Regions from separate parts of the Homo sapiens genome. Here regions 1, 3 and 4 are each linked to region 2. The links are contacts of gene promoters, found by promoter capture Hi-C in blood cells and fetal thymus (Javierre and others, 2016). All regions are on one chromosome and are shown on one strand. The core of a region is centred on a gene start or on the middle of the fragment in contact, and the rest is flanking DNA. Distances in the headings are between cores, read along the strand shown. Region 1 overlaps LINC01116 (long intergenic non-protein coding RNA 1116). Region 2 holds the start of LNPK (lunapark, ER junction formation factor). Region 3 has its middle 200 kb from the start of ATP5MC3. Region 4 has its middle 190 kb from the start of ATP5MC3.

Evidence for each region. The method cuts DNA at HindIII sites, captures the fragments that hold promoters and counts their contacts. A CHiCAGO score of 5 or more calls a contact.
Region 1: a contact is called between a fragment that was not itself captured here and the fragment with the promoter of LNPK in region 2, in 1 of 17 cell types (fetal thymus). The highest score is 5.1, in fetal thymus.
Region 3: a fragment that was not itself captured here is called in contact with the fragment with the promoter of LNPK in region 2 in 1 of 17 cell types (monocytes); the score reaches 5.4 in monocytes.
Region 4: a contact is called between a fragment that was not itself captured here and the fragment with the promoter of LNPK in region 2, in 3 of 17 cell types (M1 macrophages, megakaryocytes and monocytes). The highest score is 9.3, in M1 macrophages.

Annotation. Positions count from the first base shown.
Region 1 is chr2:176,634,214-176,637,549 of GRCh38, reverse strand. It overlaps LINC01116 (long intergenic non-protein coding RNA 1116), which reads left to right. Exons shown (of 5, transcript NR_188023.1): 1 at 1-88. Among named protein-coding and RNA genes, the nearest start is that of LINC01116, 1.7 kb to the left of the region's middle. The HindIII fragment of the contact is 1,930 bases long and covers 836-2,765 here.
Region 2 is chr2:176,000,363-176,003,722 of GRCh38, reverse strand. LNPK (lunapark, ER junction formation factor) reads left to right here and starts at 1,456. Exons shown (of 13, transcript NM_030650.3): 1 at 1,456-1,563. RefSeq lists an enhancer at 1,043-1,262. The HindIII fragment of the contact is 1,642 bases long and covers 842-2,483 here.
Region 3 is chr2:175,385,091-175,388,155 of GRCh38, reverse strand. No RefSeq gene overlaps it. Among named protein-coding and RNA genes, the nearest start is that of ATP5MC3, 200 kb to the right of the region's middle. The HindIII fragment of the contact is 4,362 bases long and covers 1-3,065 here.
Region 4 is chr2:175,366,745-175,370,084 of GRCh38, reverse strand. No RefSeq gene overlaps it. Among named protein-coding and RNA genes, the nearest start is that of ATP5MC3, 190 kb to the right of the region's middle. The HindIII fragment of the contact is 177 bases long and covers 1,826-2,002 here.

The DNA.
Region 1 (3,336 bases), core at 551-3,050, 630 kb before region 2:
TGCGCCTTTGCAGCCGGCCCTCGCTTTGCTGAAGACGAGCAGCTCCCACCAAAGTCTTGCCTCCCCTTACCCCGAAAGCCCCGCTCAGGTTTGTAAAGAGGGGTGCGAGATCTGAAAAGTATTTGTCTTCTAGGGAGAGAGATGTTGGTAAGGGGCCCAGAGAAAGACGGGTCCTTTTTAGCTCATCAACGCGCCACGTCTTGCTTTGCAGCTCCAAAATGATGCCAGCGCTGCTGTCCGAAGGGTCAATATTAATGCGTTAAGTGAAATGGGAAATAAATGGACAGTGGCACATTTCGTGGCATCATTTTTACAAGGGGATGTCGAAAGTTTTAAGCTGCATTTAAGAATTAGCCACATCTTGCCTGAAAGTTAATATTTTTTGATAAACTCGTTAATAAAGCCTAGAAGAGGTAAGTTAAAGTTAGTTACCACGTAGATCCTCCAGTCTCTTGTAGAGACTTGCGCAGGTTACTAGGATGAGGACGAGTTGTATTTTTAATTTTCTAGACTAAGTGCAAAGGCATTGAGTTTTGAGGTGGCAGGGTTAATGTTCAAGGGCAAATGGAACCGCCAAGGATCTCTTGAAAAGAATTCACTTACTATTAATACTTAAGCCTGAAATAATTATAATTAATTTACAGTGGGAATTATATGCCCATGTTTTAGACTTTTTTGTTATATTAGCTATATGAAAAGGGATGTTCTTTAGTGATTAAAAGAAAAAACCACCTGTTTATTGTCATTTGCAATTTGAAATAGCCGACAGCAGTAAGGCTAGCTACAAAAGCTAACAAGTCAACTTCAGTGTGGTTTGACATTTACTGTCAAAGCTTTGAGCTCTAAGAAAAACAGAATTTAAAATAATGTATATAAATAATAAAATTTCATTGTGACTCAATGTCCCTGCCCCTGGAGAAGGGACAGATGACACTCAGTGACTGGCTTGGAACCATTCCCCCTGCAGATGCATTTGCGGATACAGTGGGCCAGGGCTGCCTCTGAGTATGTACAGCAAGTGCTTATGGACTTACAGAAACAAATGTTTTACTATTTAGGATTTTCTCAATAGTTTACACTAAAAGTTTTGCATGTAGAAATGTGGGATAAATATTTCTTTGAAAGGAAAAGTTTCGAAAGGAAACTTTATACTTGTATTTTTTTGTGTGTTCACATTTCTAAGTTCATCTGTCTTTCAAAAAACAGATTTTCATAAATATTAAAATATTGCAAGTATTATTTTTAATTCTTTTGAGTGCCATGTTTGCTGTAAGTAGTTTTTTCTTTTAAGTAAGATTAATATAATCCTGTCTAAGGAGTTTAATAGAGAGAACAGGATTTCCAAGCCTATAAATGCAGTCTATATAAAATAGTGGGATCAAAGTTTTTTGTTAAGAAACTTGAGAATTTATACATTTTAAATGAAGATAGAAGCACGTTTTAAAAGTAGTTTTTCCACACCATTTCCCTCCCCCCAAAAGAATTCAGAAACTATATTCCATAGTCTAAAAATGGCATAATCAGATGTAAAAATTATTACCATAATATATAGTTTTCTCAAGATGGTGGATACTTTTTAATATATTATGAAGAGTTATATTCTCAGCCCACTGTGTGTTTGAGGGAATGGAAAAGACAAGATGTTTCTAAACATATTTTACTACTGAAATCCATAAGACTATTAAGCTGTGCAGGTAATTGTGTTCTAAGTGGTAGAAGTATTTTTCCAACTGCTTTTTAAACTTTGAAAAATTTATATGTATTTTAATTAGCACTTTTCTTTTAAAGGTTCCAAATATTTAGCTATATCAGCTATGTGATAAAAATTATTGGAATTTGTTCCCTACTACTTTCTGCATAAACAATTGAGAAATATTTTATACTAATCTTTTTATATACAGGGGATAAATTTGAACATGTGTCTTGTTGGTGTAATAAACAATCCAAATTCATTTCTTTCTTGAAAACTTGGCATCGATCTTCATCTTATTTTTTATGCACACAATTTGGACATGCCAGTTTGTAGGCAAGTTTTAAGACAGTGCAAGTTTTATGTGGAAGAATGTATATTAAGGAATGAATAGCTAATAGCCAAAATTAAATCAGGAGGTGTGGCATTCACTCCTTTGGATGATTATTTTAAAGATAGTTTTGCACTCAGGAAGGATTTTCTTATGCTCTGTATTTATGAATATCTAAATTATCCTGCCTTGCAACTTCAAAACTCAATAACCAAATACCAAATTTATGTATTTTCAGTGTGACTAAGGCTAGGAATATGAGAAGCAGATTGGTTTTATAAAAGAAAGCAAGCATTTACAATTGTATTTTAAAATATAATCCTAATTTCAGTTTCTGACAGAAATCTTGTGGTCAGCTCATCAGTTTTTCAGATCAGTTTCTAAATAGCATATAAAAACTACCTTTTCCACATCAGAAGTTCATATTTAGGTTTCCTTAACTGCAAAATCACTTTAAAAGAGAGTGTTTTATGTGAAGGGCCATTTCATGTGTTGGTTCCATCGATTACATATGAATGTATAAAAATCTTGTTTAAAGACCAGTAAAAGTGAGGAAATTCCAAGTCAGGCTGGCTAATTCCATTCATAATTCATCCCGAGTACCTGACTGAGGAAACTTGCAAACAGTTTATAGCTATACATACAAAATAAGTTGACGTGCTTTGTAAGCTGGAAGCAGAGTTAAGTTTGACCTCCCTGCTTGGAAGGTCTTAAATTAATAAAATTATGGAATATGGTTAAGCTTTTCAGTTTCCCAAGAATTTTCCAATATCGATGCTTTTTGGATTTTTGCATTTTGAAAATGTAAGCATGGAAGGACAACTTCTTTTGTGCTGAGATGAAGTTAGCTTTTACCCATCCATTTCCTTCCCACTTAACACATTTGTTCAGTAATTCTTCGAGTGCTGGGGGACAGAGGCCCTGCCTTGAGAAAAGCATATGCCATTTCTCTGCCCCCTTCAACCATCCCCACCCCCAGCCCTCCCTTTATTTCAAGCCAGTTGGACAAGTATTTAGCATTGACACATGTTTCAAACTGCTGCATCCACAGCCCTAGGTAGTTTTGGGGATTGGCAGGAAATCCATCTAGACTTTGCCTTCTGAGCTGGGTAAAACTACTAGGAAGTCCTATGCCTTGATATTGTGGCACTTCTAGGCTGTCTTTCCAATTTTAAGCAATCCATCAGTTGTTTTCTAAGACTGCACTGTAGACTGATGCCTTCTCTTAGTTTTGATGTTCAGAAGATTTTTTAAACATGTTCATAGATTTCTTAAACATTCTGAGTAATTGTAATTTTAAACTAGACTAATTTTA
Region 2 (3,360 bases), core at 207-2,706:
ACATTACTGGCAAGTGGAAAGCCGTTCTTCCCAGTCTTCTTAGGAAAGGAGATCTTTCTGCGGTGAGATATATTTGCAAAACTGCACAGGACTTTAATACTTTGCAACAGCAAAGGTTGAAAAACAAAACGGTTAAATTTCCACATCAAAACAGGTGAAATGTTTCTGTTCATTTTCTTCTACATTTGGAAAGTGCCTGATCCACAGTGACACGCTAAACTTCAGTTCCCTTCCCCTCATCCTTGCAAGTGTACAGAACTGTAACTAAATATTTAGGCAATTAGGGCAAGCAAATTGCACAGTGAATTATGCGGTAGCTTCTAGTATAATAAATTTTCTTACCAACCAAACAATGCTCAGTTGCTTCTCTTGACAACCTGTTTGCATCGTCAAAGTTTAAATGTAACATATTAAAACTATTACTCTTTAAAAAATCATTGAAACTTTTTTGTGTATAAATAAAAAAATAGAATAAAAATAAATAAAAAATAGAAAAAAACCCATGAAAAATGTTTGCACATGGGGTAAAGCATGTAAAAGGGGTAAAGCATGATAAAAACCTTCGCTGAAGTTTCCCTGCTCACACATTACTGTGTGCACGTCTAGTCTTTTTCTCATTCAGGCATCATTTGTTATTTGTCTTTTCCAGTTGAGGAGGACACTTAATACCGTTTCGGCAGCGTTTCAAATCCGAGTCAAATATAGCCTGAGTGGTTTTTTTGTGGGTCCACCTATCAGGGCCTGTGAAGAGTGTTCTTGGGGTTAAGAGTTCTAAGATAGAAAACTCAGCTTATGCTGTTACCCGCAGGTTTTAAAGCAACATGATACGGCGTTTGAAGCTTACCTCACACCGGTGAGGTAAGCGTCCAGTCATCAAATGACCCTTTTTGACGTCCAAGAGTGACAGAGCCTCAAGCACTCCTGGGGACCGGGCTGACTTTTCTCCACTGGCTTGGTTGGGAACTGGCTTCTTCGGAGCTGTGTAGTCTTAATTTGCTTTGCTGCTGGCTGGCTGACAGCTGATGGGGGACTCCTCAGGACGGACTCCCTTCCAGATGCACCCATCTCCATCCTTCTCAACTCCCCAACCTTTGTCCTCCCCACTCTTCGCTCGCGCGGCGGTCTGAGACCACCAGGACCAGTTTCAGGGGTTTCCTTCTCCAGCGAGACTTGGCAGAACAGGCTTTAAAAGCAAAGGAGGCAGCGGAAGAGTAAGAAATAACTATATTCTAAGAGTCATAATAAATGGCAGTACATAACTGCGACACGACACCGAGCAGCCTAAGCTGGCTGCGGAGGCCACAAACACAAGATCCTAACCTCCCGGCCGACCCGCCCCAACAACTACCCGCCCAGGGTACGGTCACGTGACGGGGGAGCGGCGCGCGCCGACCGCGGCGCCAATTGGCGAGCGGCTGGAGCGCGGGGTTTCATGGGAAGGAGTTGGCCCGGCTTGTCTCTCTGTCAGTGGCGGCTGCTGCCTGCTCTGGAGGCAGGCTGGGCGGTGGCGGCCGAGACTGGCGGGGGTGGACGCCCGGGCCGGGCTGCGCCCGCTTCTTGCAGGTAGAACGCTCAAGGCGAGGGCAGTTGGGAGGGCTCTGCAGCGGGGAGGCATGCTGAGCTGTGCCCCTGGGAAATAAGCTGCGGGTTCCCCGCTTGCCTCTCCTTGGTGCCCCCGCCTCCTGCCAAGTGGCCTAGAGCTCTGCGGCGGCTGCTAGTCAGGCTGCGCGGTGGTCCGCGCAGACCCAGGCTCGCCGCCTTGTTCCCTGGATTTCCCAGCACACTGGCAGTGGTGGCGCTGGAGTCTTGAAACCCTTGTTTCCCCTCTAGGGCTGGTAGTTTCTCCAGCTCGGTTCTAGGAGATTCCGGGTGGTGACTGGCTTGAGCCCCAGCTCTTTGGCCCACTTGTGTCGAGCTTATCTCGACACAGGTGGGGCAAAGAGGTCAGAAGGTCCCAAACTAGCATTTCCTACGCTCAGCTGTCCGCTTTGAGCGTTCTCTCCGCTTCTCTTTCTGAGTTGTGCGGAGGCTCCAAGAGTTAGAAAGACCAGAAGGGACTGAAAACTGTCAGTGTCATGCTGCCGGGCTCTAGCGTGTGGGCGTGGAGTACGTGCTACTTAGAGAAGAGACTCTCCAACCATTGTCCTTATTTCAGGGATGGTGGGCTGTGGGGTGGAGGGGAAGGGCGAAGGTGCATTGTATCAGAGGCGTGGTAGGAGGAGAAAAACAAATCTAAATTCCGTCAGTTCATAGTTTACGGATTGAGAAAGAGTTGAAATTGGTCAACTCAGCTTTGCTGATGGTGCTTTCACAGTACTAAGCAAGACCCGTGAATCACTGAGTTTTCCGTGTTCTGCTTTTCCCAGTTGGCCTCCGGTGTGTGTTGCTCGGTGTCTACTGTTTCCTCCTTTCTTTATGGCCTGGGTGTCAGCATTGACAAAATTGACTCTATTCAACAGCGGTTTGGTGGGTGTGAGTAAGCTTGGTTTCAGGAATATGTTCAAACTGGCAGGGAATGCTCATTTCTTTTCCTCAGCAGCCCCCAGAAGACCAAGTTGACTTTTAACACATTTTCTTAAACAGGAGTGGTGCGTTTAAATTAGAATTTTAAGGTTGTCTGTTATCTATTGAGATCAGCTCAGTAATGATGTTAGTAAACTTATATAGTGTTTATATGTTATATAAACAAGAAAATACAAGAAAAGGAGAAGTTATATGGCTATTAAAAATATATGACTTCACATAGAAACATTTATAATCAAATAGTAATTTTTTGGTGGTATTTAGTTCAGATGAAAATTGACTTACCATGAAAGCAAGCACTAATCATTATATATTAAGAGTGCTTAATATATAATAGAGGTGTACTTTTCATTAAAATTCTTTTTGAGGAGCAATAAATGTGGCTTGGGCTATTTCAGAATTGTCTTTTCAGTTAGGACATTTGAAAGTTAGAATTCTAGAATAAATCACCTTTACTCTTCAATTGTATAGTATAATATGTTATGGAGGTACTGTTGATGGTGATTAAATAGCTTATACTTAACTTTGGAATTTGATAAACATAGAACTTCCTTTGCTGTTTCCTTCAAAGACCTACAAGGTTATTTAATGGCAGAGTCTACAGAATTTTTTGCTCTATTTCTTATACTAGAGAAAATGAGAGCAATCTATTTTTGTAAAAATACAAACTAATATAATTTTCCAATTTTAGAATTATGAAATAGGTGCTTTCTTTATAAGAAGTTAGAAATGTGTTTCATATAAATACATGTGTTTTCTGGTAATAATAATGGCTACAATTAAGCAGTTACTACTATGTGTCGGACACTGTGCCAAATGATACATAATTTCATTTAA
Region 3 (3,065 bases), core at 82-2,581, 620 kb after region 2:
GGGATGTTCCTTGCTAAGAAAAAGAATTCAGCGATATTTCTCCCATTTGCTTTTGAAAGAAGAGAAATATGGCTCTGTTCCACCCGGCTCACCAGCGGTCAGAGTTTAAAGTTATCTCTCTTGTTCCCTGAACATTGCTGTTATCCTGTTCTTTTTTCAAGATGCCCAGATTTCATATTGTTCAAACACACATGCTTTACAATTTGTGCAGTTAACGCAATCAACACAGGGTCCTTAGGTGACATACATCTTCCTCCGCTTATGAGATGACAGTATTAAGAGATTAAAGTAAAGACAGACATAGGAAATCACAAGGGTATTGATTGGGGAAGTGATAAGTGTCCATGAAATCTTCACAATTTGTGTTTAGAGATTGCAGTTAAAGACAGGCATAAGAAATCATAAAAGTATTAATTTGGGGAACTAATAAATGTCCATGAAATCTTCACAATCCACATTCTTCTGCCACAACTTCCGCTGGTCCCTCCGTTTGGGGTCCCTGACTTCCCGCAACAGTGAGACATTTCTACCATTGAAATGGGGTTAAGATAGCAAGGCAAGTCCAATAAAGGCCTTTCCTTCTTGCCAGGCACTCTGATTACACTCTGCACACTGTACCAGGTAATTGGATTATAGTAGCACAGGTAGCACTTTTATGCTTACATCATATTGAGGACTTCGGATACATCTGTGCTCTATGGGATCCTAACTTGGTGTATTAGTCTGTTCTCATGCTGCTATGAAGAAATATCTGAGACTGGGTTGTTTTTTTTTTTTTTTTTTGAAATGGAGTTTCACTCTTGTTGCCCAGGCTGGAGTGCAGTGGCACGATCTTGGCTCACTGTAAACTCCGCCTCAAATTTCAGTGATTCTCCTGCCTCAGCCTCCCGAGTAGCTGGGATTACAGGCACCTGCCACCATGCCCGGCTAATTTTTTATGTTTTTCGTAGAGATGGGATTTCACCATGTTGGCCAGGTTGGTCTTGAACTCCTGACCTCAGGTGATCCACCCACCTCGCCTCCCAAAGTGCTAGGATTACAGGCATGAGCCACTGCACCTGTCCTAGTAATTTATAAAGAAAAGAAGTTTAATTGACTCACAGATCTGCATTGCTGGGGAGGCCTCAGGAAATTTACAATCATGGCAGAAAGTACCTCTTCACATGGCAGCCGGAGACAAAATGAGTGCCAGCAGGGGAAATGCCAGACACTTATAAAACCATCAGATCTCGTGAGACTCACTCATTATCATGACAATAGCATGGGGGAAACTGCCCCCATGATTCAATTACCTCCACCTGGTGCTGCCCTTGAACCGCGGGGATAATGAGGATTACAATTCAAGGTGAGATTTGAGTGGGGACACAGAGCCAAAACATATCATTCCACCCCAGGACCCTACCAAATCTCATGTCCTCATATTTTAAAACACAGTCATGCCCTTCCAACAGTCCCCCAAAGTCTTATTCCAGCATAAACCCAAAAGTCCAAGTCCAAAGTCTCATCTGAGACTGGAAAGTCCCTTCCACCTACAAACCTGTAAAATCAAAAGCAAGTTTGTTACTTCCCAGATACAACAGAGTTACAAGCATTGGGGAAATACATCCATTCCAAATGAGAGAAACCAGCCAAAACAAACTACAGGCCCCATGCAAGTTTGAAATCCAGTAGGGCCATTATTAAACCTTAAAGTTCCAAAATGATCTCCCTTGACTCCATGTCTCACATCTAAGTCACACTGATGCAAGAGGTGGGCTCCCATGGCCTTGGGCAGCTCCACCCCTGTGGCTTTGCAGGGTACAGTCCTCCTCCCTGCTGTTTTCACAACTGGCATTGAGTGTCTGTGGCTTTTCCAGGTTCATGTTGCAAGCTGTCAGCGGATCTGCCATTCTGGAGTCTAGAGGATGGTGGCCCTCTTCTCACAGCTCCACTAGGCAGTGCCCCAGAAGGGACTCGGTGTGGGGGTCCAACCCCATATTTCCCTTCTGCACTGCCCTAGCAGAGGTTCTCCATGAGGGCTCCATCCCTGCAGCAGACTTCTGCCTGGACATCCAGGTATTTCCATACATCCTCTGAAATCTAGGCAGAGGTTCCCAAAGCTCAGTTCTTGACTTCTGTGCACCCACAGGGTCAACACCATGGGGAAACCCCTAGGCTTGGACTTGCACCCTCTGAACCTGTACCTTGGCCCTTTTTAGCCAAGGCTAGAGCTGAATCAGCTGGCATGTTGGGCACCATGTACCAAGGCTGCAAGTTGGATCAGGGATGGGGGTGGCCCGGGGCCAGGCCCATGAAACCATTTTTCCCTCCTAGGCCTCTGGGTCTCTGATGGGAGGGGCTGCCACAAAGGTCTCTGACATGCCCTGGAAACATTTTCCCCATTGTCTTGGTGATTAACATTCAGCTCCTCATTACTTATGCAAATTTCTGCAGCAGGCTTGAATTTCTCCCTAGAAAATGGGTTTTTCTCTTCTATCACATCATCAGGCTGCAAATATTCCAAACTTTTATGCTCTGCTTCCTCTTGAACACTATGCCACTTAGAAATTTCTTCTGCCAGACACCCAAATCATCTCTCTCAAGTTCAAAGTTCCACAGATCTCTAGGGCAGGGGACAAATGCCACCAGTCTCTTCGTTAAAGCATAGCAAGAACGACCTTTGCTCCAGTTCCCAACAAGTTTCTCATCTCCATCTGAGACCACCTCAGCCTGGTCTTCATTGTACATATCACTATCAGCATTTTGGTCAAAGTCTTTCAACAACTGTCTAGAAAGTCCCAAACTTTCCCACATCTTCCTGTCTTCTTGTGAGCCCTCCAAACTGTTCCAACCTCTGCCTGTTACTCAGTTCCAAAGTCACTTCACATTTTCAGTTATCTTTACAGCAGCGCCCCACTACCTCAGTACCCATTTACTGTACTAGTCCATTCTCACACTACTATGAAGAAATACCTGAGACAATAATTTATAAAGGAAAGAGGTTTAATTGACTCACAGTTCTGCATTGCTGGTGAGGCCTCAGGAAAGTTGCAATCATGGTGGAAGGCGCCTCTTCACAGGGAGGG
Region 4 (3,340 bases), core at 665-3,164, 630 kb after region 2:
ATATCGGTCAGTCTGCAATTTGAGGATGTTTCCAGTTAAATCGAATTTTAAAAATTGACCATTAGTTTTGTTGAAAAACTTTCCCATACAGTGTTATTGAAACACCCTTCAGTTATTTTCTGAGTTACGTAATCACAATGAGTATATTCTTTCAGAGCACCCATTTTCTGTGCCTTTAATCATTTTTGATACTTTCATTTATTTGTATCTTTCTACTTTGCATAAAATGATAGATAAATCAAAGACATAGTACTTTTTTCTTTTTTTCTTTTAACATCATTTCCCACTCCCAAACTCAAACTAAGCCCTATACTGAATTTTTTACAAGCATCTGTGGTATTTACAATCAATGTTGTCATAAACAAATTAAATTACAAACTTCTAACTTAGCTTTATGTATGTATTTTTCCATGACAATGTTTACCAAAGAGTGGAAATAGGCAAGTGATGTGTCTATATTGTATCTGAAGCTAAAGAATTTGGGGACTGGTGTAGCTGAAGAGTCTTCTTTCAAACCTCTCTCACCCGTAGGTTCTGGGGCCACAGAATATGGCCCTTGGAACAGTGTTATAATTTTATTATTGATTCGTGTTCAACTTTATAACGTCAGATAATTTCCTGTTTCATGTGCATAGTGAATCATTTTCTAAATTTCATTTGAGATTTCTTTTCCCATGCACTTCACACACATTATATCCCTATTAAAGATTGTTCCAATTCTTACTAGCCATTTTTACAACTTGAAAGGTTATTAGATTTCAAATTCTGCTTGTCATTTCCTCCCACTGTCCTGGTGTCTTTCATCATCTAAGTGCCCAAGAATATCATAGATGTTACAGATGGATAGCTGGCATCTATTTGCCTAGCCAATACTGAGTTAGGAAAATCTTCTCCTTTGTTATCTATCCACCCAAGCAGCTTTCCTCTGCTTCTCAATGTAACTTGCCAGTACCAAGGGGTCTCCATGGTTCTGATTATCTTTGGATCATGCTGGCCCTTTAACTCAAAGTGCACTTCCCTCCACTCTCCACCTATAAAATCACAATTCATTATTAGTGGTAGGAATCAACTGTTATCCCTTCCTGGAAACCTTCTGTGATTCCTTAAGTCAGAATTAATCACTCTACCCTCATTTGTTTCCCTGTGTTAGCAACTTAATTTTGACTGAATCAAAAGCCTCGCTGATAGGAAGTTGTATATGAAATCAGAGTTTTGCTCACGTGCAGTTTCGTTGTATTTACTCAACTATTCCCTGGGAGTTTAGAATCTTCCACAGTATTCATCTCTGATACTTTAGTCTTGTTTTCATGTCTTGCAAGTATTGTTTTCTGACCTTCAGCCCTTTTGGTATTCATTTAGTCAAATTTGTTGCTCGGTAGCTTTTATCTGTCTCACATAAACCATGAAATAGAATTTCTTGTGTCCATCGTGGTATTTCCTTTTAAAATATGCACCTCTTCTGAACTCCTTTGTCCCATGGGATATGCCTAAATGTGACTTCAGCCTCACTTTGATCCACAAGATCCTTAAGAGCTGGTGGAGACCTCAGCTATAAGCTTAATACAATCTCTCATCTTATGGATAAGAAACTAATCTGGGGAAGACAGAAGGGACTAACTCCAAGTCATCCTGCTAGTTAGGGTGACATAGATGGATTACCATCAGTGTCCTGTTTCTAAACCTGAGAAGAGCAAATTAACTACACCTAAATGCGGAAAAATAAAATCAACCATAATGGTGCTGGTCATGTGGAGTTTACTGAATAAGCCTTTACACAGCCATGGGCTCTCTCCCAGTGGGGTCATCTTGACAATCCTCCTAAGCTTCCTGACTTTGATTTCTAAAAATTAATACATATTCTATATTTGCCTGGGTTTCTTTCTATCCTCTCACAACCCTGACCTCTAAATTTATCTCACCTTCACCAACGCAGTCTCCATCCTCTGTAGCTTCCCCTATCCTCCTTTCTCAGGCAGAACAAGCCAACACATCTTACAAAGCTTCCACAGTTTCTGTACATAACTTCTCATTCCATGAACAGCCTCCAACTCTTCACACATGGAATGCTCTTCTCTCCAGCATAGCTCATCACAATCCTAAACTTCACAACGCATCTCAAAAGCCAACTCATTTTTCTGACCACATTCAACCTCCTCTCTTAGAATTAGTTGTTTAATTGGCTTCCTTTCACAGTACCTTGTTTTTGCCTCAGTGCTAACTCTTAGCCCAATCTGTTTTCTATTAGAATTTCTTTTTTATTTATCATTTACTAGACTGCACTCTCTGAAGAGAGCTATTTTCCTTTAGGCACTGAGTGACTTCACGAAGCATGGCCTAAATAAATGTTTGTTGAATAAATAAATGAATGATGAGAAAGGCATTTTGAATATCTGTTGCCTATTCTACACAAATAGATCTACCTAAAACTCCAGAAATGTCCTGTTAGTCAAGGCTTTTAAAATGTAATTTTTTTCTAGAATGGATGGCATAAAGGAATTCCATGATGCATAAAAACAAAGAATGTTATGACATGCTTTATATATTGTGAATCAGTATTGGTATTTCTAAATGTGACCTAAACTTTATATTCAATTATGATCAATTGTAATTTCTCTTTTTGGAGGGTAATTGCTCTTACCTTCTTTATCTGAGATGGCAGGGGGAGACAGTTTCAATACCTACAGTCTCACAAAAAATAAATAACTTCATAAAAACTACCATGAAGCAGCTTCATGGTTGATATTTAGAGTTTCAGCCCATTCCCAAAAGATTCCAATGAGGACAGAAAAAAATCATTCATTCCTCTAGCTGTTTCATCCAAACAAAGACACATATTTAAATATCAGGAAATACCACTGTAGCTGCCTGGATATTCTTTTTTCTCTTTGGGGCACAGTCAGATCAGGCAGATCATGTCCACACCATTAGGTCAAGGGTGTTCTCACACCAAACCTAGATGTGTCTTTGCTTCTCCTCATCACTTGTAACTTGTGACGTCACCCTTTCACTCCTTGAATAAATCCAGTATCAGCCCCAGCCCATATAAATCTGTTCTGCCCCTTTGCTTCTGTCTTCATGTACAGCATACTGTAAATAATCATAATGGAGTGGTGTAAATAGTTCTGTGGTACACTGGAGACCCCTATTGGTGAGACTCAGACAGTGAATTCGAAGCCCGACATCCTAGCGAACAGAACTGGATCCGCGTCTGCTGGGCTCCTTGGGGTTCCAGTAGAGCAGAAAGCGATGCCTTTAGCAATTTTTGCACATTGATTAATCAGTTTATGAAAGCAAATGTGTGTGTGTATTTACTGTACTTTGTGTTTGTATATGACATCAC